2 separate regions of the Homo sapiens genome follow, and region 2 is linked to region 1. The links are contacts of gene promoters, found by promoter capture Hi-C in human tissues and cell types (Jung and others, 2019). All regions are on one chromosome and are shown on one strand. Each heading gives the region's core, a stretch centred on a gene start or on the middle of the fragment in contact. The rest is flanking DNA. Distances are from core to core; before and after follow the strand shown. Region 1 holds the start of FAM131A (family with sequence similarity 131 member A). Region 2 overlaps ABCC5 (ATP binding cassette subfamily C member 5).

Region 1 (2,707 bases), core at 148-2,647:
TGAGGAGGGGGCCGGTGTCGGGAGAGGGAGGAGCCTGCACCGGGAGGCGGGCCAGGCAACAGGAGGGAGCGGGAATGAGCAGGGAAGGGGCCAGACCGACTCCGGTTCGCTCCCACGGCCTGCCTGCCTTGGGGTTTTGCAGGGCAGACGCATGGTCTCGCCGCTGGCTGCCGTGTGCCCACTGCTCAGGGTGGCCGGAGACGCACAGCCCCGGGAGGGGCTGGGCAGCCCGATGCCCCCACCACTCCAGCCCTCGGCGACTGGCCTTGCGCGCCCACACACACACTCCCCTCCGCCTACACCTCTGCCTTCACAGTCCTGGGAGTGGCCCTGTGCTGGGAACCTGCTTCTCCCAGCCGTGTCCCCATCTTCTTAAAGAGGTAGCCTTTCGGTCCTGGCTAAGCACCCTACCACAGAATTTTTGTCGGACATTGACTCCCCTCTTCAGTCAGTCGGCGAAGGGGGACTGAGGTCCCGTTTGGGGCACCTGTGAACACTGAATCACCTCTCACCTATTACAGTTGTTTTAATGTCCTGCCCCCACTCAGCAAAAACAAATCACTCTACTCTGTGGAGGGAAAGAGGAACCCAGAGGCAGGCCATCAGGGCTTCCTTCCCACAGTGCTGACCCCTGCCTGGGCCTCGGTTTCCGTGGGTGGCCATGCACACCGGGCCTGGCCGTAGTCCTGTGCATCAGAGGTCGGCCAGCTTCCTTTACTCCGGTGTGGTGGATTTCTCCACGCATAAGGCAAGGCAGGACTGGGTTTGGGATGGGTCCTGGACCTTCAGGGCAGGTGGTCAGTCACACAGGCCTTGGTGTGGTTGGTACTTGATGTTCTTTGGAGCTAAGACTGGCTGAGATTTGTACTTCCCTTGAGGAATTCTGGGATTTGTAGTCCTAAGTTAACCTCGTGGCTTTTGAAGCTGAGGAGCAGCTGACTGCTCTGATCTCTCTGGCCCTATCAAGGCTTGGAGTTCAGGAAGTCATCACCTTCTCTTGTCAGGGGTGAGTTTGGCTGACCTCAGGACTGGCCTCGAGAGCCCTGGTTAGGTACCAGTTGGGGGCCAGGGATGGCCTGTAACCTCCTGTTTTCCTTCTGGTTGGTAGCATTTCTGGGGACCAACAGCTGGCCGAGGCTCAGGGATAGAGACGGCTGCTCCAGCTAAAGGTCAGTTGTGATGTACATTGCCTGTTGGCACTGTCTAGGGAATGGGCCTCAGCTCCCCGAGTCCCAGAGAGCTTGGCTGAGCCCTGGTGTTCCCACCTCCTCAGAGCCATGAGGCAGGAATGTTCTCCTTATGTGACTAGGCACAGGTTCCAAATGGGGAGGGGACTGGCTCAGCATCCGGAGCCAAAACAGGAATAGAACTGGGAGCTGAGCCTGGAGCGGTTCTGGGCTTTTGGTTCTCTGCATCAACACAGCCAGCATGCCTATGATTTCTGTGCTGGGCAAAATGTTTCTGTGGCAGCGTGAAGGGCCTGGAGGACGATGGACTTGTCAGACAAGTCGCAGAGGTGAGACCAGGGATCATGGATGTGATCTGGGAGATGATGGGAAGCTGAGCAGTAGGGTGCTTAGGTGGAAAAGGAAAATTACTCTGGCTTAGATATTAAGAACCAGGCTGAAACAGGGAGAACCAGGCTGGGGCCAGACAGGGCATCAGGAAACGGCTTCAGGGGACAGGGGTGAAAATCAGAAAAAATATCATGAGTTCGTCAGAAAAGAAGAGTAAAGAGCTGTGGACCAGCTGAGGCTGGCGAGAGGAAAGAAGGCAGCAGGAAGAGAGAAGGAAGGCAACCCTCCTGCAAAGGGTCCAGGGTGGCGGTGGTGGGGGGGACAGTGATGGCGGAAGAACTCAGTGTGCTTTCCAAGAGGAATGGGTAGGCTGGGAAACGGGAAGGAGAGTCAGAATTTATCATTGTTTGGTTTCACCCTAGGGTTTTGAGGCAAAATTTATCCAGAGCAGGAAGGTGGCAAGTGGGCTGCCACAGAATGGCCCCAGGGGCCCGAGGGTCAGTGATGTGTGGGATGGGGGCTTTTAGAGTTGAGGAGAGCACTCAGTGGGCGCTGGTCTTCTGGAAGGTGGGGGAGGGGCCGAGAAATGATACGGCAATACTGGATGAAAATGGGGATCTCTGCAGAAGTAGGGGCACAGCTCAACAGCCTTTCCCCTTCCTCTCAGTGTCCTCGGACCCCGCTTGGGCTGTGGAGTGGATCGAACTTCCTCGGGGTCTCTCTCTATCCTCTTTGGGATCTGCTCGAACCCTCCGAGGCTGGAGCAGGTCCTCCCGCCCTTCCTCGGTGGACAGTCAGGACTTGCCAGAGGTGCTGGGCCCCTGGTGGTGGGGGGAAGGAGGACGTCATCCATATAAAGGGGATCTGCAGCCCCCACCCACGCCTGGCCAGCCAGCTTCTGGCTCCCTTTTCCGGCGGGCGGAGGCGCTATCCGGCGGCGGGCCGGGAGGCCGCCCCCGTGCCGGTCTGCTCTGCTCGGCGCTGTGCCAGCAGGCGGAGAGCTCGCGCCTTCCGCGCTGACGTCAGCGCATCCCGGGCCGTATCCCGGGAGACCCTGTTGCGTGGTGATGGGTTGCCAGGGAGACATACACCTTTTCTCTGGGCCTGGGCCGCAGCTGCGCGGAGCGCCGGGCACGGATGGCGGCGGCTGAGGGGAGCGAAGCGAGGGAGGGAGAGCAAGCTAAGAAACA
Region 2 (2,707 bases), core at 154-2,653, 330 kb before region 1:
ATCTCCTTTTCTTATGTCCACGAATAGGTTTAAATCCTTACCATCAATCCCAGACACCCCAATGCCTCCCTATCTTCTAGAAACGCCTTTCCTCCATCCTCACTTCTGTGCTTTACAACAGAACCCTGGCCTCTCTGACATGGATAGGCAGAGCCGCTTCCTGAATGCTCTTTATATTTGGTCTCTTTCTCCTGTACAGGTTTTTTTCTGCATTGCTTCAAGACTAATCTAAGATAAAAATCTACTCTCAAACATCGTAGCCATTAGGGAACTGCAAATTAAAACCACAATCAGATACCAGGCACATCTATAGGAATGGCTAAAATAAACATTATAACATTGAGTACTGGCAACAATGTGGAAAAACTGGATCATTGCTGGTGGGAATGTAAAATGGCACAGACACTCTGGGAAAGAGTACTGCAGTTTCTTACAAACTAAATATGCACTTACCATATGACCCAGCAAGCGCAGTCCTGGGCATTAATCCAGAGAAATAAAAGCTTATGTTCACACAAAATCCTGTAACTGAAGGTTCAGAGCACCTTTATGTATAATTGCCATTAACTGGAAATGACCCATATGTCCTTTAACAAATGAATGGTTAAAGAAGCTATGGTACATCTATAACACGGAATGCTACTCAGCAATACAAAGGAAAGAACTATTGATGCACACAACAAAATTAGATGGCTATCAAGGGAGTTCAGCTGAGTGAAAAAAGCAATCTCGAAAGGTTATATACTATATGATTCAATGTATATAGCATTCTTAAAATGACAAAATTACAGAAATGGAGAAAAGATTAGCAGTTGCCAGAGACTGGGGTTGAGGGGACATGACTGTGGCTATAAAAGGGTAACGAGAGATCCTTGTGATGGAACCTTTGCATCCTGACTGTGGAAGCGGTCACACAAATTTACACCTTTAAAAAATGCATAGAACACAACACACACACACACACACACACACACACACACAAATGAGTGCATATAAAACTGGTGAAATCCTAAAGTCAATGGATTGTATCAATGTCAATCATTATCCTGTTGTGATACTGGACTATAGTTATGCAAGATGTTACCACTGGGGGAAACTGGATGAAGAATATATAGGATCTCTATATTATTTTTTATAATTGCATGTAAATCTACAGTTAGCTCAAAATAAAAAGGTTTTTTTTTTTAATCTCATTAACTTCCAATAGTTCCCTAATGCCCACAGTGAAATATTTCTTAGCATGGCATGCAGAATTTCACCCGACCTATAATCTCTTTACACATCCTATGCCCTGAACAACTAGTTCTAAGAGCTAACATTTATTGAGCACTGGCCATGTGCCAGGTACCATTTTAAATATTTTATATGTATTATCTCATTTACTCCTCAGTGATCCCATGAGTCAGGTACTACTGTCAACCCCATTTTATATACAAATGACGTAAGTAGCTTATCCAAAGTCCCAATATGTCACACGCTCTTTCCATACCTTTGGGTCTGTACTTGTACCGCCTAAAAAGCCTCCCCACCTAATCACCCTTTAAGGCCCTGCCCCAATGTTACCTTCTGACTTTTTCCAGACTTAACTGTTACACTAAATGTGTCTAGCACTCAGATGTAATGGATAGATGTTTAATCAACATAAGGTCTAGACAAAAGGACATGAGGAAGTTATAAAACTGGCACCACGAGAAGCATTTGACACTGATTACATTAAGCCTGTTTCTCTGAAGTTAAACCTGAATGGAAAAGCATTCTATAATACACAGTAGGGTACAGAAAAGACTCATTAGCAAGAAAATGTTCATTAATAAAGCAATGGCTTTAACACAACCAAAGAGGGAAAGGTAGTATCAGGCTAAGGAAAGGCCAGTGTCAGCTGCAAAGTCCATTATCTTTCTCAAATTTTCACATAACAAATACACCAACAAAAACCTCAACTTCCTAAACCTAGTCCATTCTGCCTTATTAGGTACTTTTGTAAGAAAAGGTATAATGCTTTTTTTCCTCAGGAAAAAGAATATTTTCTCGAGGTAAAAACGCATCTTCATTATTTCCCTTGGAGGAAATTAGATTATTATCTAAAGACTGCTTAACTTATGAATTCGCTTGAAAAACATACTGATAATCCCACAACTATCTAGAATTGTTCTGAAATCTGAGTCTCTCCAAAGGATTCACATTTTATTTTATTTTTTATTTTTTTGGAGACGGAGTCTCACTCTGTTGCCCAGGCTGGAGTGCAGTGGCGTGATCTTGGCTCACTGCAACCTCTGCCTCCTGGATTCAAGCAATTCTCCTGCCTCCCTCCTGAGTAGCTGGGAGTACAGGTGCCCACCACCACACCTCACTAATTTTTGTATTTTTAGCAGAGACAGGGTTTCACCGTGTTGGCCAGGCTGGTCTCAAACTCCTGACCTCAAGTGACCCACCCACCTCAACCTCCCAAAGTGCTGGGATTACAAGCATGAGCCACTGTGCCTGGCCAGGTTCACATTTTAAACACACATGACAGAAAGTAGAAGAAAACACCAATTTTGTTTAGGTACATGAATGAAGCTTAATTGGCTTTATATTCCCTGTCATTGACCCCATGACCCCCTCCCCCTCAATAAGTTGTCTTCTGTTAAGTATAGCCTTTTCAGAAGGCACCAACATAGAATAAAAGTGAAAAAGAGGAGAATGCTCAGAACAGACCGGGTGAGAG

The links. The method cuts DNA at HindIII sites, captures the fragments that hold promoters and counts their contacts. A contact is called where the count stands out against the background at its distance.
Region 2: a contact is called between a fragment that was not itself captured here and the fragment with the promoter of FAM131A in region 1, in 1 of the 25 tissues and cell types used here (spleen).

The regions. Positions count from the first base shown.
Region 1 is chr3:184,336,203-184,338,909 of GRCh38, forward strand. It overlaps FAM131A (family with sequence similarity 131 member A), which reads left to right and starts at 1,398. Exons shown (of 6, transcript NM_144635.5): 1 at 1,398-1,516; 2 at 2,185-2,327. The coding sequence starts at 1,429. RefSeq lists silencers at 1-31, 1-148, 72-141 and an enhancer at 1,940-2,551. The HindIII fragment of the contact is 28,060 bases long and covers 1-2,707 here.
Region 2 is chr3:184,011,067-184,013,773 of GRCh38, forward strand. The region is part of intron 2 of ABCC5 (ATP binding cassette subfamily C member 5); the gene reads right to left. It overlaps ABCC5-AS1 (ABCC5 antisense RNA 1), which reads left to right. Exons shown (of 3, transcript NR_046570.1): 3 at 200-353. Among named protein-coding and RNA genes, the nearest start is that of ABCC5, 5.5 kb to the right of the region's middle. RefSeq lists an enhancer at 1-539. The HindIII fragment of the contact is 5,237 bases long and covers 1-2,707 here.